2 separate regions of the Homo sapiens genome follow, and region 1 is linked to region 2. Evidence: promoter capture Hi-C in 16 types of primary human blood cells and fetal thymus (Javierre and others, 2016). All regions are on one chromosome and are shown on one strand. Each heading gives the region's core, a stretch centred on a gene start or on the middle of the fragment in contact. The rest is flanking DNA. Distances are from core to core; before and after follow the strand shown.

Region 1 (2,891 bases), core at 352-2,851, 52 kb after region 2:
GTTTTCTTATATTGAAATCTTCTGTGTGTGTGTGTGTGTAAAAATGTTGATATTCTTAGCAGATGACGATTTCACACTGCCATAAGGGATTCCAAAAGCAGAGCGTGGCAGAATCTGAATAAGCCACCTTTTTTCTCAGTTTAATTTGGCAGAAAAGGAAACAGCAAGCTTTCCTCTCCTCTTTTAAAATAAAACTTTTCCCCTAATTCTAACAAATGTGACACAGTACTGTTATTATGAAGGGATCATCAATATCATATTTTACAAGTAAATACCATTTTGGGTGACTGCATTTTTGTACTGATCTCATAAAACCAAAACACACACATATATATCCATACACACATTGTAGCAGATCTGAAAATGTAGAGTTTTCAGAGTCATTCAGAGAATCACTAATCAAAGATAAAACATTATAACATTTGGCATATCTCCTATTTTCTCTCCAACAAATTTCTGTTTTCTCTTAGCCAAAATATTTAGCCAATCAAAATAGTTGAACAGATTTTATCTTTAAAAATTAAGATAAAATTTACATGCAGTGAAATGCACAGATCTTAAATGTACAATTCAATGAATTTTGATAAATGTAACCATGTAATCACCACTCCAATCAAGACAGAACATTTCAGTTACCTCGGAAAGTTTCCTGTTCTATACATTTTTTTACACAGTTAAAATAACGCTATTATTTACAGGATTTTGATCTTGCATTTTTCTTTTTTTTTGGAGACAGGGCTAGCCTGTCACCCAGGCTAGAGTGCAGTGGTGCGATCATGACTCACTGCAGCCTCAACCTCCTAGGCTAAAGCAATCCTGCCACCTCAGCTTACAGGCGTGTGCCACCACGCCTAGCTAATTTTTGTATTTTTTGTAGAGATGGGGTTTCACCATGTTGCCCGGGCTGACCTCAAACTCCTGAGTTCAAGCAATCTTCTTACCTCAGCCTCCCGAAATGCTCGGATTACAGGTATGAGCCAACATGCTCGGCCTGATTCTGCATTTTTCTAATATGTAACAAGCATGTCCCCATGTTATTAAAAACTTTCCATAAAATTTAAGTTTGTTTAACTTTCTTGAGGGCAAGTTGGCATTACAAATCAAGAGCCTTAAAATATACTTATATTGATTGTCTCACCCAGAAACTGCACTTCCAGGAATTTAAATTTTAATCTAAGGAAACCATCACAAATTGCAAAAAATTATCTCCCTATATGCTAATTATAATAGTAACAAACCGAAAATAATCTAAAAATCCAACGAGAGTGGCCTGGTTAAATTATGATGTATTTAGATAATGGAATGTTATGCAGTAATTTTTAAAATGTGGCAGAATATTTAATGATGAGGGAAAAGGCCGTGATATATTCTTACATAAAGAAGGGTTGTAAAAAAGTATTATCCCAATTTTACAAATAAATGTGTACGTATATAGGGGTGTGTGTTGTGTATAAAATTAAAAAAATTTATAACAATGTTCAAGTGGTGGTAGGTTTATCAGTGATCTTAAATTTCTTCCTTGTGCTTTTTTGTGGTTTTAGGATTTCCTATAATTAATGTACATAACTTATGTAATGGAGAGGAATTATAACCATTCCACTTTTTTTTTTACATCGAAGTTCTTTATATTATATTCAGCTATTCTAAATGCCACAATATACATTCTTGAGCACAGAGGCCTGTCTTTGTTTATTCATTCATTTATTATTTTTTAAAGACAGAGTCCTGCTCTGTCATCCAGGCTGGAGTGCAGAGGCACAATCAGAGCTCACTGCTGCCTCGAACTCCTGGCCTCAAGCAATCCTCCTGCCTCGGGCTCCCAAGGACCTGGGACTACAGGCATGTACCACCATGCCTAGCTAATTTTTTCTTATTTTTTGTAGAGATGGGGTCTCGCTTTGCTGCCCAGTCTGGATTCAAGTAATCCTCCTGCCTCAGCCTCCTAACGTGCTAGGATTTCAGGTGTTAGCCACTGCACCCAGCCCTTGTCTTTATTTTGAACATCTCTAAGAACAGATTACCTGATATAGAGTAATTTAGGTCAAAGTATGTAAATATTTTGACAATAAATGGGCAAAGCTAAAAGCTAATAGCGGCCTGATGCACAGAAGAAGTCAGGATTGGTAGAGCCCCAGAGGTCAGCCCTCCAAATTTACAACTGGTCTCTCTCTGTTCCAGAAGGGAACTCCCTTGTACCTTTCTAGGCGTTCTGACACCAGGTAAGTCTGGTTAGCATCCATGATAAATGTCAGTTGGTTAATGAGGTCATCAGGTTGAATGAGGCCTTCTAGCCGTCCCACCACAGTCATCCTTCGATCCTTCAGCATAATCATGGCCAGGAATGGATAGGTGTTCTCTCGTAAAGCCTGTGAGACTGATAAAAAGACCCAACAGATCAAGGGCAGGACTTGACGGTGAAAAAGATCAACCCTTAGACTTTCCACAATGAGTGAGAGAGAACTGTTTTAATCCTGGTTGGGGAAGACGAGAGGTATCATTTAGTCTCCGCTTTTTCCCCGCCTCCTAGTTTCTTTCTTTTCTTTTTTTGAGCCAGGGTCTCACTATGTTGCTCAGGCTGGTCTCCAGCTCCTGGGCTCAAGTGACCCTCCCACCTCAGCCTCCTGAGAAGCAGGGATTACAGGAGTGTGCCACCATGCCCAGTTCCTCCCAGTTTTGTAATCTTTTGTTTTTGTTATCAATTTGCATGCCTATCCCTAGGTGCTTGACTAGAATAGGACAGGCTTTCCTGGTGGCGGTGTGGTTGTTGTGATGATGCCAGGGAAGGCTGCAGAGTTTAAGGATAATGTCTACTTGATGGTACAAAAAGGATCTATAAAGAATCTGGCACAGTTTTTCCCTGTACAAGGGCTCAAACCTAAAAGGGCACAAGG
Region 2 (2,772 bases), core at 193-2,692:
TCCAGGAGGGTCAGGGTGGGGAGGTGGGTCCTCCTTCAGTGTGGGGAGCCCCCGGGGTGCACTCAGCCACGATGCTACAGAGCTCCCCCAGCACCGCCACCGCTACACGGCCAGCTCGCCATGCACTTTCACTTCTGCTTTTTCATTTACTTCTCACAGCTGTTCCCAAGCAGGAATTATCCTATCCTATTATTCCAAGGAAACCGAGGCTCATAGATGCCCAGAGATGGGTGAGCCAGGGGCAGCAGGTTAGACCCAGGCTGCCTCCAAATCCAGGGGTCCCTGGGCAAGCCTTGGTCTGGGCTCCGTTGATCCAGGAGGCCGTGCCTGCACCCACAGAGCGGACTCCAGCCGAGCCTGGGTGCCCGGAGCAAGGATGTGGGACCTGAGCACGCAGCTCCCCGCCACGGGCCCTCCCAGTGCCTATGGCCCAGGCCACCTGGCCCAGCAGACACATACAGACTCAAACAGCCCTGGGTTCAGATGGCAGCATTTCACATATTTGTTGTGCAACCCCAGGCAAGCCCTCTCCCCTCTCCAGGCCTCAGTTTCCCCTGCTGAGAAGCAGAGTGAGGATAAAAATCAAGGGGTCTACACACGGGCCATGACTTGTTTCCATCTGCCGGACCTCGGTGCTCACTGGGACCCTGCCTTGTGCCTGGTGCCCAACCCAGCACAGGCCTGCCTGAGTGACGCAGCATGGCCCCGACTCTCAGCTGGGTCACCACCTCCTCTACCAGGGCAGAGAGATGTGCAAGGCCCGGACTGGGCAGAGCTGGGGCCAGCCTGGGTCAGTCCCTGCCTGACACTTCCTAGCACTGGCTGAGGTGGCACTGGGCTCGGTCATAGGCCACATGCTCACCTTTGCCTCAGGGCTTTTCAGGCCCTTTCTGGAACTCTTCTCATCCCCATTTGATAAATGAGGAAACGGAGGCCCAGAAGAGTTAAGTAGCCCACCAAGGTCAGGGTGGAGCTGGGATGTGAACCGAGCAGCTGGGGTAAGAGCCCAGGTCAGCTTCCCCGTCCTCAACCCCTGAGCATCCTATGAAGGGGTCAGGCCAGTTACCTCGTTTCCCTGGGGTGCCTGCCTCCCTTCCATCCTCTGAAGAATCATCCCTTGAGGACTTGGATGGGAAGGGGGCCATCAGCCCCCAGGGAAGGAGGTATTATTATCCCATGTTTACCAAAGAAACAGGCCTCACAGCAGGCTGGGACCTGACCCGGCTCTGCCCCATCTAGCGTGTGACTTCCCCTGCCCAGCTTCAGGGGAGACTTTTAAAGACCCCCAAGCTTGCCTTGGCTCTAGGGATCCCCCCAACCCCCACATTTCTCTGGCCCAGAGACCCCCGATGAGCTGGATAGTCCCTACCTGTGTCCCCTTCGCCACGGAGGCGGCAGGCAGGCGCCGGACAGGCGCTGGCACACAGGTGGGCACCCTCTGCGGCCTGCAGCTATGTGGCCAGCAGACTTTGGCACCATCTCCACCTCCACTGAGCAATCATTAACCCTGCCAGAGACCACACCTCCCAGGAGGGGTCGACTCCTAATGAGGCAGAGTACAGCTGGGGGCGCCGGACAGGAGGAAGGGACCAAGGCGCCAGAGCTCCTGGCGCTCCTGGGGCTGGAGGCCCACACCACAGGAGAAGGGGCCTGGCCGACCCTGAGCCCAGAGGACCTGGGAACAAGGCCCAACACTGGGGCAGGCTGGAGGCGGGGACGGTGACAGTCAGAAGGTGATGCCAGAGCCCCCGTCCCCTCCCTGCTACGAGTCTTCAGTGACAGGGGATCTGTGGACAAGTGGGGGATTGAGTCAGGAGAGGGAAGTGGTAAAACAGTGTAACAATCAAACACTGTGTGGCCAGACCAGCCCCTGTGAGGTTCTCGTGGAGGACTGGGGGCTAGCTGAGCCTGGACAACCCACTTTCGAGCCTGTTGACACTGATCTCACCCCGCATTGAGACCCTCAAAAGGCATCTGCCCGTCCCCAGGGGCTTCATCCACTCCCAAGTTGCCTTTTTTTTTTAATTATTTATTTATTTTTGAGTCAGAGTCTTGCTCTGTCACCCAGGCTGGAGTGAAGTGGCACAATCTTGGCTCACTGCAATCTCTGCTTCCTGGGTTCAAGCAATTCTCCTACCTCAGCCTCTCGAGTAACTGGGATTACAGGCGTGGGCCTCCACACCCGGCTAATTTTTTTTGTATTTTTAGTAGAAACAGGGTTTCACCATGTTGGCCAGGCTGGTCTCGAACTCCTAACCTCAGGCGATCCGCCTGCCTCGGCCTTCCAAAATGCTGGGATTACAGGGATGAGCCACGGAGCTCGGCCCCCAGGCTGGCTTTAAGCGCTGCCCGATGTGGTGGCCTCCCGAAGGGGCTCAGCCACAAGTCCTTCTTATCCTCACTTTGGCCCAGCCATCACAGTTGACACAGAAAGGGGACCCTGGGCACAACTTTCTTAAGGCACACCACTGAGTCGTCACCATTGGGTGGCCCTCTTCTTGTGGGCAGAGGACATGTCTAATTCACAATAGATATATAGTCATGCACCATATATCTGTGTTTTGGTCAACAACGAACCACACATATAATAGCGGTCCCATAAGAGTATAATATCATCTTTCATGGCACCCTTTCTGTGTTTACATGCACAAATACTTACCCCTGTGTTACAGTTGCCTGCAGCGTGCGGTACAGTCCCAGGCTGCATAGGTTAGCAGCCCAGGAGCACAGGCGGTGGTATAGAGACTGGGTGTGTAGTAGGTGGTACCGCCT

The links. The method cuts DNA at HindIII sites, captures the fragments that hold promoters and counts their contacts. A CHiCAGO score of 5 or more calls a contact.
Region 1: a contact is called between a fragment that was not itself captured here and the fragment with the promoter of CDHR2 in region 2, in 4 of 17 cell types (non-activated CD4 T cells, naive CD4 T cells, total CD4 T cells and 1 more). The highest score is 6.0, in non-activated CD4 T cells.

Annotation. Positions count from the first base shown.
Region 1 is chr5:176,495,969-176,498,859 of GRCh38, reverse strand. FAF2 (Fas associated factor family member 2) reads right to left here. Exons shown (of 11, transcript NM_014613.3): 8 at 2,197-2,374. Among named protein-coding and RNA genes, the nearest start is that of RNF44, 40 kb to the left of the region's middle. The HindIII fragment of the contact is 2,862 bases long and covers 171-2,891 here.
Region 2 is chr5:176,548,012-176,550,783 of GRCh38, reverse strand. CDHR2 (cadherin related family member 2) reads right to left here and starts at 1,442. Exons shown (of 32, transcript NM_017675.6): 1 at 1,370-1,442. RefSeq lists an enhancer at 237-1,170. The HindIII fragment of the contact is 9,099 bases long and covers 1,293-2,772 here.